Linked DNA regions of Homo sapiens: region 2 is linked to region 1. Evidence: promoter capture Hi-C in 16 types of primary human blood cells and fetal thymus (Javierre and others, 2016). All regions are on one chromosome and are shown on one strand. Each heading gives the region's core, a stretch centred on a gene start or on the middle of the fragment in contact. The rest is flanking DNA. Distances are from core to core; before and after follow the strand shown. Region 1 holds the start of VSIG8 (V-set and immunoglobulin domain containing 8). Region 2 has its middle 14 kb from the start of CADM3.

Region 1 (6,217 bases), core at 1,323-3,822:
TCTTTTTTGAGTCAACATGTCTTCTGGAGTCACAGCCCCAGGTCTCAGCAATCATTCTGTTCTATCATGTGGCTCAGGACCATGTTTACACATAGAGATCTCACACATGCACACACACAATTACACCATCACAGGCAAACAAATCGGCACGTGGCCCACTCTTACAAGGCTTCAAAATGCAGATACATACCTATATGGCCCCACCTTCCTACAAACACAGACACTATATAGATTCATTCAGACACAGACACAATCTGCACACAAACACAGAACATATTAATTCAAAAGACACACCCACCGTGTGTTCATATAGTCCCTGTATGTGTTCATTCAAGACCAGACATATCTATGGAAGCCCTGCCAGGAAGGCTTAGCCTGGCTCCAGAGAGGCCAGCAAGGGCCCTTTCAACACCCTCAACAGCTCAGGGATCCCTGAACATCCCCCCTAGGAACACTGGCTGGGCCATCAGCTCTGTCATAACCCAGCTAGACTCCAAGGTGACCCAGAGCAGGCAGGCTGACTGCTGGGGCTCTAACGGGACCTAGTGATGCCTCTTCCAGCTCCAGGCCAAGAGAACAACAGCTCATTCCTGAGATAAGGATCCTGCTGCCATCTGCCAGATCCTGAGGCTGCTCAAGGCAAGCCAGGGATGAGCCAGAACTCGGCTGAGAGCAGAGGCTCCACCCTGGAGAAGCACCGCTGGAAGCACCCACACAGGAAGGACTCTCTCCATGCCATAGGAGCCTGCCAGGCAGGATGGTAAGCATTCAGGGAGAGGGGCTTGGGAAGGAGCGACAGGCTGCAAGAAAAGCACCTCCACCCTGCACCAGGCTGAGAGATTCTTCAATTGTCCCAGACCAGGGAGCCTCACCCAGCTTTTCTATCTCCTTAGAAGTCTTCTCAACCTCCTCCCAAGGGTTCCAGCCTTTCCGCACCCCTCCCTCTCCTTGGGAAGTTGCTCCTAATGTCTCACCTTGATTCCTCTTGCTGTAGCACTAAGGAAGTACTACAGGGAATGTGAGAGGAGAGGCTGGAGAGAGGGAAGAAAGGCAAAGTGGAAGAGAGAGCTGGATGGGAGACTTGAGGAGAGACAGGAATGGAGGAATCACATGGGCTCTCCAAGGAAGAGGACAGTGGTGATTCTTTGCCCCCCAAAAGCACCAGAAACTGGCCATGCTTTACGGGGTGTCATCTCAATAGTGGTGCCTACTCTCTGCTTGCAAATTCTTTCTGAATCTTCAAGGTGCTTCCAGAACTCCTGATCTTCCCTCTGGAGGTAAGGGAGGGGAGAAAAGGCGGCTCCAGCTGAGGGTATTGATGCGTTAATGCAGCCAGTGCTGAGTTGTCCTCACACACCCATTGACACACCACACAGGGGGAAGTCCGGGTCCCCACAGCACAGCTGGAGCCTCCCGAGTGGACTCTGCCAGCCCTGCTCTCATCAGACAGAGAAGGGCTGCAGCTATCCTGCCGGAAATGTCATCATTCCCATGCAGGTGCACGCACCCACACACTCACATACACATTCACGCTCACACAAAGGCTGAAAATGTCACCCCGCCTTCCCAAATTCCTCCTTCATGCCCCTTCATCCCAAATCCAGACTGCAAGAGGGACTCGGAGCCCTTTCCAGTGATGTTGGCATAGAATGCCCCTTGGTGGAACTTGCCCCAACCTGGGCAGGAAGCCACAATGTCCAAACTTGAGCCCTGCCCTGTGGACCTGTCCTGGTGGGGTGAGAAGTCTCTGGAGTTGCCATCCCCACCACCCTCAGGCCTCATCCTAGAGTGGGGCACTGCCCTGTCATAGCACAGGGGGCCCAAGGCTGAGGTCTCAGGCCTGAGCTGTCACTGGCCATGATGGAAGAAACCACTCAGACTTACACCAGACTTAGTCTCTTGCCCTTTCAAGGCAAGTGACTTCCCTGCCCCTTGGCCCTGGCCTTGGGAGAGAAGGAGTAGCGTTGGGAATAGCACACAGTCTGATGAAAATTGATCCTTCCCAAGCTCCTCCTGAGCCCTCACCCAATGCCCGTGCTTACCCCTCTCCTACCCCACCTCCAGCTCCTGCAGAGCAATCAATCCCTCTCCTCCTAGTCACGGCATGAGCTTGCAGGGCACCTGCACACATGTGTGAGCCCGACAGGGGACATATAAAGATCCACTCAAAGACCTCTGCACTACAGACACACACCCTGAACATCAGGCACAGGGTCTCCTGGGGAAAGGTCCCCTGGTAATACCCACACCCGGCTGCAGCAGGGCAAGGGTGGGCAGCACCCTGCCAGGCAACTCAGGCAGCCCCAGGCTCCACTGTGAGCCCTTGCTGCCCCTTTCCTTCCCACCTAGCCTCATGCTGGCTACCCTGCCCCCTGCCCAGCCCCGTACCTGGGCTCAGGCACACGAGTAGAAGGTGGAATGCTCCTCCAACTCTCATGTCTCTAGGCTCGGTGTTTCCTCCGTCTGGGCTGGGTATCCCGTGGGGTCGTAGTGGTGGGTGTGAGGGGGTAGGTGGAGGGAGGGGGAGCTGAGGGCCCAGACACTGCCTGGGGTGGCAGGAAGGTGCAATGAGTGCCCAGCTGGGGAGCAGCTGGAGTTATTTCTATGGGAGGGAGGGGGCCTGGTCCCCGCCTTGGGGAGGAGTCCCAGGAACCCTAATTAGCAGGGTGACAGGGTGGCCTACCTGGGCATTACCCAGCCCTCACCCAAGCTCTTCCCTGTCCTAAGAGTGGCACAGGACAGCCAGCGGGACTTGTAATTAGGCACCTGTTAAACTTCACTTCCTCCTGGCCACATCCTCAGGGTGACAACAGTCACCTCATTTACAGCTTCCAAGGGCTCCCCTCACCACTCATTTGCTGCCTCCTTCCCTGGGGGAAGTGGGGAAGAGGAAGGAGAAGCCAGGCTTGGGAGAAAGAGTGGCCAGGACCTGAAGAGTTAATCCTGATCCCAGGGCATAGGGTTCCCCAGGAGTGTCCAGCCCACCTTCCCCCAGGCTTCAGGCCTTTCAAAGGGACTCAGGCCTCCTGAGCTGAAAGAGGAGAGAAGGGGTGTGTGCAGGAACAGAGTCTCCTCCTGGCTGTCCCCTCTGGAACTGTCCTCCACACCCATACTCGACTCAAGGCCATCCCCAAGTGTAGGGGACCCCTGGGAGCAGGGGTGCTATGGGGGGTCCAGGGTGTGTGCTAGGAGTAAGGTGACTGATGGGCTAGTGAGGGAGTGTTGGAGAGAACAGCGCCAAGAGGACCAGGGAAGGGGGTGCCTGTGTAAGCGTGTGCACCCCTCAGCAATGTCTGTGGGAGGGAGGCAGGATGTCTGTGTCAGGGTGTCTCTGTGAGGATGGCTAAGCCCCTCTGAGTGAACTTCTTGAGGGATCGCTTGGTGTCCTGGCTTCTCTGCCCAGAAAGAGTAGCCAGGTCTTGAGGGTTAATGCAGTCCCAGTATTAACTGGGTCCTTGAGACCAAGGACCCTCATAACCTGGACTGGTCATCGGGCTGACTAAACCAGCACAGTTCTGGGTAAGTTCGTGCTGGGGTGGGGAGGGTCCTGGTAGGCATGGGGAGCAAGTGAAGGGCCACCCCTTGTTGGCTTGTCTAAGGGGGACAGAATGGGCATGTGCCTTGTTGGACTCCATGGTGGGAGTCAGGACATGAGTGACCCCATTCAATAGCTCAACTCCCTCAAAGGAGTCAGGGACTGCCCCCATCCCTACCATGGGGCACAGAAAGGGCAGAGGAGGAAGAGTGTTAGGGAGAGTTATGGGGCTCAGGGATGCTGCCAGGGCCCACCCCTCTGGGGAAAAATAAGTCAGAACATTAAGGAAACACAAGGAGTCCACGCGTCTCTGCATTCCAAGCCGTTGCACCTGAACTCCCAACAATAACAGGGCGCTCTGAGACCTACCAGATGTACACAATGAATATCTTTATTTCCTTATTTATTTTTAGGTTTATGGGATTGTCCTGCTCCCTTTGAAGAGCAGGGATCATTATCCCCATTTTACAGATGGGGAAACAGAGACCTGGAGAAACATGGGGATTCAGCCAATGCGGCTGGTGCCTAAGCTGGGATACCCAGGTACCCAGGGTGTCAGTCCAGAGAGGTCCAAAAAATGGTCTTGGTGATCCTGTGGATTACTAGACCCACTCACGAACAAGAACCATGGAAGGTCAGGGTGAGTGGGAGGGAAAACAGGTCAGACCACGAACAGAGAGATTGAGGAGAAAGCAGTAACATTGTGGTTCCACTAAACTACAGTGCAGGCTTCAGATTTAATTGGGTTCTGGATGTGGGCTAATGTTAGAGCTGGGGTTAAGTTTGGGGTTAGTTGAATTATGAATGAGGTTGAGGTCAGATTTGAGGTTGGGATTAGAGTTAAGGTTGGGATTAGGGTTAGAAATACAGCTAGAATTGAGGCTCAGGTTTATGGCTGGGATTTGTGTTACGATAAGGAATAGAGTTTTAGTTTCATTTACAGCTCTGCCTGGGAATACAGTTAGGGCTAAATCAAAGGCTGGGTTTAGATTGATTTAGCATTGGGTTAGAACTAAGTTTGAGATTCACATTGAAATAGGCTGTGGTTAGGGTTGGAACATGGTTTAAAGACACGTAAGCAGCGGGAGTTGATGGGGATCAAAGATGAGGTTTTATTTCTAATATAGAAAGACTTCAGCCTCCATCTGCTAAATCCAGGTTTGGCTAGAATTTTCAATCCTTAGTGCGGGGAGACTACTAATGGCACATGTTGATTGGGGTCCCAAGACTTGGAGGAGGAAGCCAAATGTACACGAGCCCATCTAAGGGGTATGAGGCAACTAAATCCCATAGAGAATGGACCCTCTGAAGTCCTGCTCCACTACTAAAGCTCACCACCTGGCCAAGCTCCAGAAAAACATCTGGGGAGGAGACGCAGGAAGCTACTGACAATGAGTTGGGCTCTGACACCAAACCGAACTAGAAGATGGGGTCCATCAGAGGGAGTCTTACTGAGTGGGGAGGAGGGGTGGTCTGGATTTGGAGTCCTTAGGAGATGGGAGTTGGGAGAAACTGAGGGCCTACATGCTCCTAGAACAGCCACTTTATGGGGCACCACATGGGGGTCTTTCAAAGCCTGAAAGGGCAGAGTGCCATTGTTGTTTCCCCTTGACCCTCTGAGGCTTAATTGCTACCTTCTTGCAATTTGAGTCCTATAAAAGAAGCTGTCAGCCTTCCAGCCCTAAACCCTGAGCCCTGCAGGGTTTTCAGGGAGGGCAGCAGTGGGGAGGCTGTGGATGGGGTGAAGGCACTGGGGTGTCAGCATAGTTTCCAAAGCATATGTCACAGTCCTACAGTCCCCTCCCTCTGGGCCCAGCTCACAGTCCGTGTAAGTCTCTGGGCCTTATCCTCAGCAGTGGAAGAGGGCCCCACTCCTAGGAAGACCCCGTCCCAATTCCTCCCTCTCATTTTTCCCCAACCAGTCTCCAGCCCAAACATCTCATTTCCCCACCCACTTCCTTTTCAGGTTTTATAAAGGTCTGGTCCAGGAGACTACTGGGGTTCCCCCTGTGACCCCAGAGAGAGAGAAGAAAGAGATTGGGAGAGATAGTGATGAGTTAAGGGGCAAAGACAGAGACAGGGACAGAGGCAGACAGAAAGACACATGGTCTAAATGGCCCCTCCAGAGACTCAGAGGGATACAGAGGAGGCAGAGGGCCCAGGCCACGAGCTGGGAACCAATACAAATTTCCAAAAGGGCCCCTTGCTTTTTCCTAAGAAATCCATGACTCTCCAGGGAAGAATGGCCCTGCTTTGACTGGTATTTGCTTCTATTCTAAGACAGTAACAGAAAATCAAAGACTGGCTTAGAAAGGAGTAAACAGGGAGATACAGGAGGTAGGAAGAGGCTGGACAAAAACTCAGAGAAGGCCACAGATTGCTTACCAGATGAAGTGCAGCCCAGCCCCAGAACCTTTCTGGGAAGGACGGACAGAGGGCTTGGGCTGCCTACTCTTCCTCCAAAGCCTATTCTTCCTCCAAAGTCCCTTTCATGGCAACTCCACCCCACTCCTCTAAGCCCTGCCCTCCCCTGCCTGTACTTGCCCACCCCAACCCCTCTCAGTGGCCGCCAGACTCCCTGGGCTCAGGCTCAATCAAGCTCCCCACAACCCCTGCCTTGGCTGGCACTGCAATTTGACTCATTCTAAACTCCTCCCCACACAGTCAGCAAGCTCCTCAGCC
Region 2 (5,826 bases), core at 2,925-5,424, 700 kb before region 1:
ATGACCAGCGATGATGAACATTTTTTCATGTGTCTGTTGGCTGCGTAAATGTCTTCTTTTGAGAAGTGTCTGTTCATATCCTTTGCCCACTTTTTGAGGGGGTTATTTTTTTCTTGTAAATTTGTTTGAGTTCTTTGTAGATTCTGGATATTAGCCCTTTGTCAGATGGGTAGACTGCAAAAATTTTTCTCCCATTCTGTAGGTTGCCTGTTCACTCTGATGATAGTTTCTTTTGCTGTGCAGAAGCTCTTGAGTTTAATTAGATCCCATTTGTCTATTTGGGCTTTTGTTGCCATTGCTTTTGGTGTTTTAGTCATGAAGTCCCTGCCCATACCTATGTCCTGAATGGTATTGCCTAGGTTTTCTTCTAGGGTTTTTATGGTTTTAGGTCTTATGTTTAAGTCTTTTAATCCATCTTGAATTAATTTTTGTAAAAGGTGTAAGGAAGGGATCCAGTTTCAGCTTTCTACACATGGCTAGCCAGTTTTCCCAATACCACTTATTAAATAGGGAATCTTTTCCCCATTTCTTGTTTTTGTCAGGTTTGTCAAAGATCAGATGGTTGTAGATGCGTGGTGTTATTTCTGAGGCCTCTGTTCTGTTTCATTGGTCTATATATCTGATTTGGTACCAGTACCATGCTGTTTTGGTTACTGTATCTTTGTAGTATAGTTTGAAGTCAGGTAGCGTTATGCCTCCAGCTTTGTTCTTTTGGCTTAGGATTGTCTTGGCAATGCGGGCTCTTTTTTGGTTCCATATGAACTTTAGTTTTCTCCAATTCTGTGAAGAAAGTCATTGGTAGCTTGATGGGGATGGCATTGAATCTATAAATTACTTCAGGCAGTATGGCCATTTTCACGATATTGATTCTTCCTATCCATGAGCAAGGAATGTTTTTACATTTGTTTGTGTCCTCTTTTATTTCCTTGAGCAGTGCTTTGCAGTTCTCCTTGAAGAGGTCCTTCACATCCCTTGTAAGTTGGATTCCTAGGTATTTTATTCTCTTTGAAGCAATTGTGAATGGGAGTTCACTCATGTTTTGGCTCTCTGTCTGTTATTGGTGGAGAATAGGAATGCTTATGATTTTTGCACATTGATTTTGTATCCTGAGACTTTGCTGAAGTTGCTTATCAGCTTAAGAGTTTTGGGGCTGAGAAGATGGGGTTTTCTAAGTATACAATCTTGTCATCTGCAAACAGGGACAATTTGACTTCCTCTTTTCCTAATTGAATACCCTTTATTTCCTTCTCCTGCCTGATTGCCCTGGCCAGAACTTCCAATACAATGTTGAATAGGAGTGATGAGAGAGGGCATCCTTGTCTGGTGCCAGTTTTATAAGGGAATGCTTCCAGTTTTTGCCCATTCAGTATGATATTGGCTGTGGGTTTGTCATAAATAGCTCTTATTATTTTGAGATACCTTCCATCAATACCTAGTTTATTGAGAGTTTTTAGCTTGAAGGGGTGTTGAATTTTGTCAAAGGCCTTCTCTGCATCTATTGAGATAATCATGTGGTTTTTGTCGTTGGATCTGTTCATGTGATGGATTACGTTTATTGATTTGTGTATGTTGAACCAGCCTTGCATCCCAGGGATGAAGCTGACTTGATCATGGTGGGTAAGCTTTTTGATGTGCTGCTGGATTTGGATTGCCAGTATTTTATTGAGGATTTTCACATCAATGTTCATCAGGGATATTGGTCTAAAATTCTCTTTTTTTGTTGTGTTTCTGCCAGGCTTTGGTATCAGGATGATGCAGCCAGGACTATTTGATATGTTAATAATCCCTCACTTGTCTACGTGTAACCATCCCTGCTGCCTTTCTGCCAATCAGCTACACCACCAACAGAGCAATTATAATTTTTCTTGAAGGCAAAACCCCTTAAAGTTCTCTCTTGTCTAAAGAAGAGACTAAAAGCCATCTGTGATCTGATTCCCGTCCATTTTTGCAACATCAGTTACTATTATCCCCCAGCCTCCCCTCTCAGCTTACATTTTACAATAAGTACTTAGAGTTCTCAAAATGAAAAAAAAAAGGTTCGTTTTCCATACTAATATGACTTGGTATGCTGCAATGGTTTCTCTTTTTGGAATGCCTTTCTCCTGTCTCCACCCTCACATCTGTCTGGAAGACTGTTCCTCCTCTTTGAAGACTCAGTTTCAATCACCTCATTTTTTATAATATCTTCCCTGACATCCACCACAACCCCAAGCAGACTGGATCACACCCATCTTCACACCATTACTGCACCCTGTGCATATGGCTATCGGAGGACTGAGCACTCTGTAACGTACTCAATTTTGTGAATCTCTGTTCCTACCAGAGAGAGAGAAACTTGAGTTTTTTTACCCTTGATAGTCTGGGCAGTGCCTGGCACATGGTAGTTGTTCAATGTATGTTTACCAAAGAAAAAGAATCAACAATCAAAACCACTAGAACAGGTCTTTGTCCTCCTAGACACATATCATCCTATAATACCACAGTTCTTGATTTTTGTAATGCAAGTATTAGATGGGAACTCTTAAAATGACACTGAGAACTTTAGGCTTCTTCTGCTGGTCTACTTCAAAGTGGTAGAACGTTCAACTTTCTCCAGAGCTCCAGTTTTCATATCCAGTCTATTCAATATTTCCTACTTGATGGGTTGCCCTCAGCTTAAACTCAATGTAATCTAACAAAATTGTTACAAATTGATTATGTCTCCTGCAAATTTAGATGTTAACACTCTAATCCCTCATGTATTTAGATGTGAGTCCTATGAGAGGTGATTTGGTCATGAAGGTGGAACTCTAATAAATGGAATTAGTGTCATTATAAGAAGAGACACAGGGAGACAATCTCTTTTTCCACCATGTGAAGACACATTGAGAAGGTGGCTGTCTGCAAACCACGAAGAGGACACTCAACAGGAATCAAATCCACCAGTACCTTGATCTTGGACTTCCCAGCCTCCAGAACTGTGAGAAACCAAAGTCTGTTGTTTAAGCCACATAGTTTATGGTATTCTGTTTTAGCAGCCTCAAGTAAGACACTAATCCTCCTTCATTCCAAAATACTAAACCCCACAAAAAGCTTCTCCTAATTCCACTATTTCTTTTCATGGTTCAGCATTTTCCAAGTCACTCAAAAGCCAAAACTGAGAGCTGCCTCAGCCTTCTCCCTCTGTCTTGCTTCCCATAACCAACACCAAACGTAGCACCTCTTTTCCATTCCCAATTCCACTGCCCTTGCTCAGGACTCTTTTACTTTGTTCCTGGATTTCTATAATCATCTTTTAACTCATATTCTTAGAATAAGCATTTAATTTAAAAAAAATTAATCATTCAATACATAGGCACACATTATAAAAATATGAAGTATATAATATGGACAATTATAGTCCCCCTTATGACTTAAGTCTCACTCCTGGCCCAGAAAATAATTTTCCAAGTTTAATATGCATCTGAACAATAGAAACACTCAAGTGCCTACTATGTGCCAGGCGCTATTTAAAGCAATTTAAATAGATTAATTTATTTAATTTTCACATCATACCACCCTAGGGGTCATGTAAAATTATCTCTATTTTCCACACAATGAAAAAAAATGCTGAGGCGGTTAAGTATCTTGCCTGAAGTCACACAGCCAGTAAGTAACTATTCATTTACTTAAACACATATTTATATGCATATAAGATTTTACATACACATATGTATATGTTTTATGCTTTTTTCCCATTTTACACAAAAGGGATAGCAGTATGTGTATTTTCTTTGTATTTTCACTGAACAACATACCTTCTGTATCTTTCTATGTTGGTAGATATAAATTTACCTCATTCTTTTTAACTGCAATGTGTTATTACAAAGTATGATATAGCATAATCTATTTATCCAATTCACTATTGATGAATATTTATGTTGTCTTCAATTTTTCACTACTGGAAAAAAATGATGTGATGCATATCTCTGCACATAAATCAGAGCACTCATGTGTGAACAGATCTATAGCATAATTTGTAGAAATAGCACTGCTGGTATTTCTATTTTTAATTCTGATGCATTCTGCCAAAATATCTCCAAAAAGGCTGTGCCAATTTACATCCTCCCTAACAATATATAAAGGTGCCTATTTCCCTAAGCACTTGCCAACACTGAGTATTATCCATCATTTTAATTTTTTAACAATCTGATGGGTTCTTTGATGCTTTTTAACAGTCTAGGATCTCTTTGGTGCTATAACTTGTATTTCTCAAAATCCAAATGCCGTTGATCATCTTTTCAAATGTTTATTAGACAACTGTATTTTTTTTCTGAGAATTCATACTCATATCCTTTGCCCAATTTTCTCTTGGACTGTTTGTCTTTTTTATGTTTATTTGCTGACTATTTTGCATGTTAGCAATTTTGATACTTTGGCATATATATTGCAAATAAAATCTTCCCAGTCTGTGACTTACTTTTACATTTTGTCTATGGGTCTGCAATTATATCAGTTTTAAAAATTATGCAGTAAATCTTATCGGTCCTTTCCTTTATCGACTCTAGGTGTTGTGTCTTGCTTAGGAAGGTCTTTCCCACTCTAAGATTAAGTATATTTTTCGACAGTTTTTGCAAACATTTTTAGTGTTGTTTGGTTTATAAAATTTAGCACAAGTCCACCTGAAATATATTGTCGTATATGGCATAAGGAAAGGCTAAACCTATCCCATACCAACTGACAAACAGATAACCAATTATTCTAATGTCTTTAAACAGTACAACCCTCTAGTCACTGATTAGAAGTGTAGTATATAATGAAGGTAGCACTCTTCATACACTAAATTTCCAAGTTGGTTTGTAACTACACTCTCTCTTCTGCTCCATGGTTCTATTTATGTATTCCTGTGCCAAGATTTCATGTTTTAATTGCTATAATTTTAAAGTTGCTTAGGATAGCTAGAAAATCATCCTCCCCCTTAGCCCCATGTGTTTAAAAAATTATGGCTATTTACTCTTGACTTTATCTTCCAAGGGAATGTTAGAATAGGCTAGTCAAGTTCCATAAAATATCTTATTGGAATTTAGCATAGTATTGCATCAAATTTATAAATTAAAAATTACCATCTTTACCACAATGAATCTTAGAATTAATATTTAAATACCAATTCAACAACATAACGTCCTGCTACAATTTTTTTTCCAACTGACATTGGGATAAAGATAAAGCTCTTCAGTGTCTAGTTTTCAAATCCCACCTCCCAAATTTGGTTTAAACTAGCCATCTCATCAAATTGATTTCCCTTATTTTTCATCCACAAAGCTTTTCAAACCAGTATACTGATTCTATCCTAAATAATCCTTCATTCCCTGTGCTAGAGATGCCATGCAATTAGGAAAGGGATAAAGCAGTTATATTCTTTGTCTACACATCCTCACTTTGAAGTGCTAACATTCTGGGTCTATCCAAGATCCATCATTACCCTTTAACAAGGCAAGAATAGGTATACTTTTCCTTATTAACTTAAACAGATTTGAGTTTGCAGGGGGAAAAATAGAGCTTTTTATGATTAAATAATCTACGACAATACAGTCATCCCTCAGTATCTGCTGGGGATTGGCTGCAGGACGCCCACACCCTTGCCACAGGATACCAAAATCTGCACATACTCAAGATCTACAATTGACCCTGTGAAAACAGCGGAACCAGCAGAACCAGGAAACTGGCATATAGAAAAAGTCTGCCCTCCCTATCTGCAGTTTGCCCATCCGGAGAATATTGTTTGGTTGCAGATATGGAGCCTGGAGATACAGAGGGCAAACTGTATTTATTGAAAAAAAAATCCATGTATAAGTGGATCCACACAGT

What was found. The method cuts DNA at HindIII sites, captures the fragments that hold promoters and counts their contacts. A CHiCAGO score of 5 or more calls a contact.
Region 2: a contact is called between a fragment that was not itself captured here and the fragment with the promoter of VSIG8 in region 1, in 6 of 17 cell types (M2 macrophages, endothelial precursors, total CD8 T cells and 3 more). The highest score is 7.7, in M2 macrophages.

The regions. Positions count from the first base shown.
Region 1 is chr1:159,860,085-159,866,301 of GRCh38, forward strand. It overlaps VSIG8 (V-set and immunoglobulin domain containing 8), which reads right to left and starts at 2,573. Exons shown (of 7, transcript NM_001013661.1): 1 at 2,389-2,573. The coding sequence starts at 2,437. It overlaps LOC107985216 (a long non-coding RNA gene), which reads left to right. Exons shown (of 2, transcript XR_001738263.2): 2 at 562-6,217. RefSeq lists enhancers at 1,074-1,988, 1,989-2,901. The HindIII fragment of the contact is 16,901 bases long and covers 1-6,217 here.
Region 2 is chr1:159,154,992-159,160,817 of GRCh38, forward strand. No RefSeq gene overlaps it. Among named protein-coding and RNA genes, the nearest start is that of CADM3, 14 kb to the right of the region's middle. The HindIII fragment of the contact is 2,208 bases long and covers 3,071-5,278 here.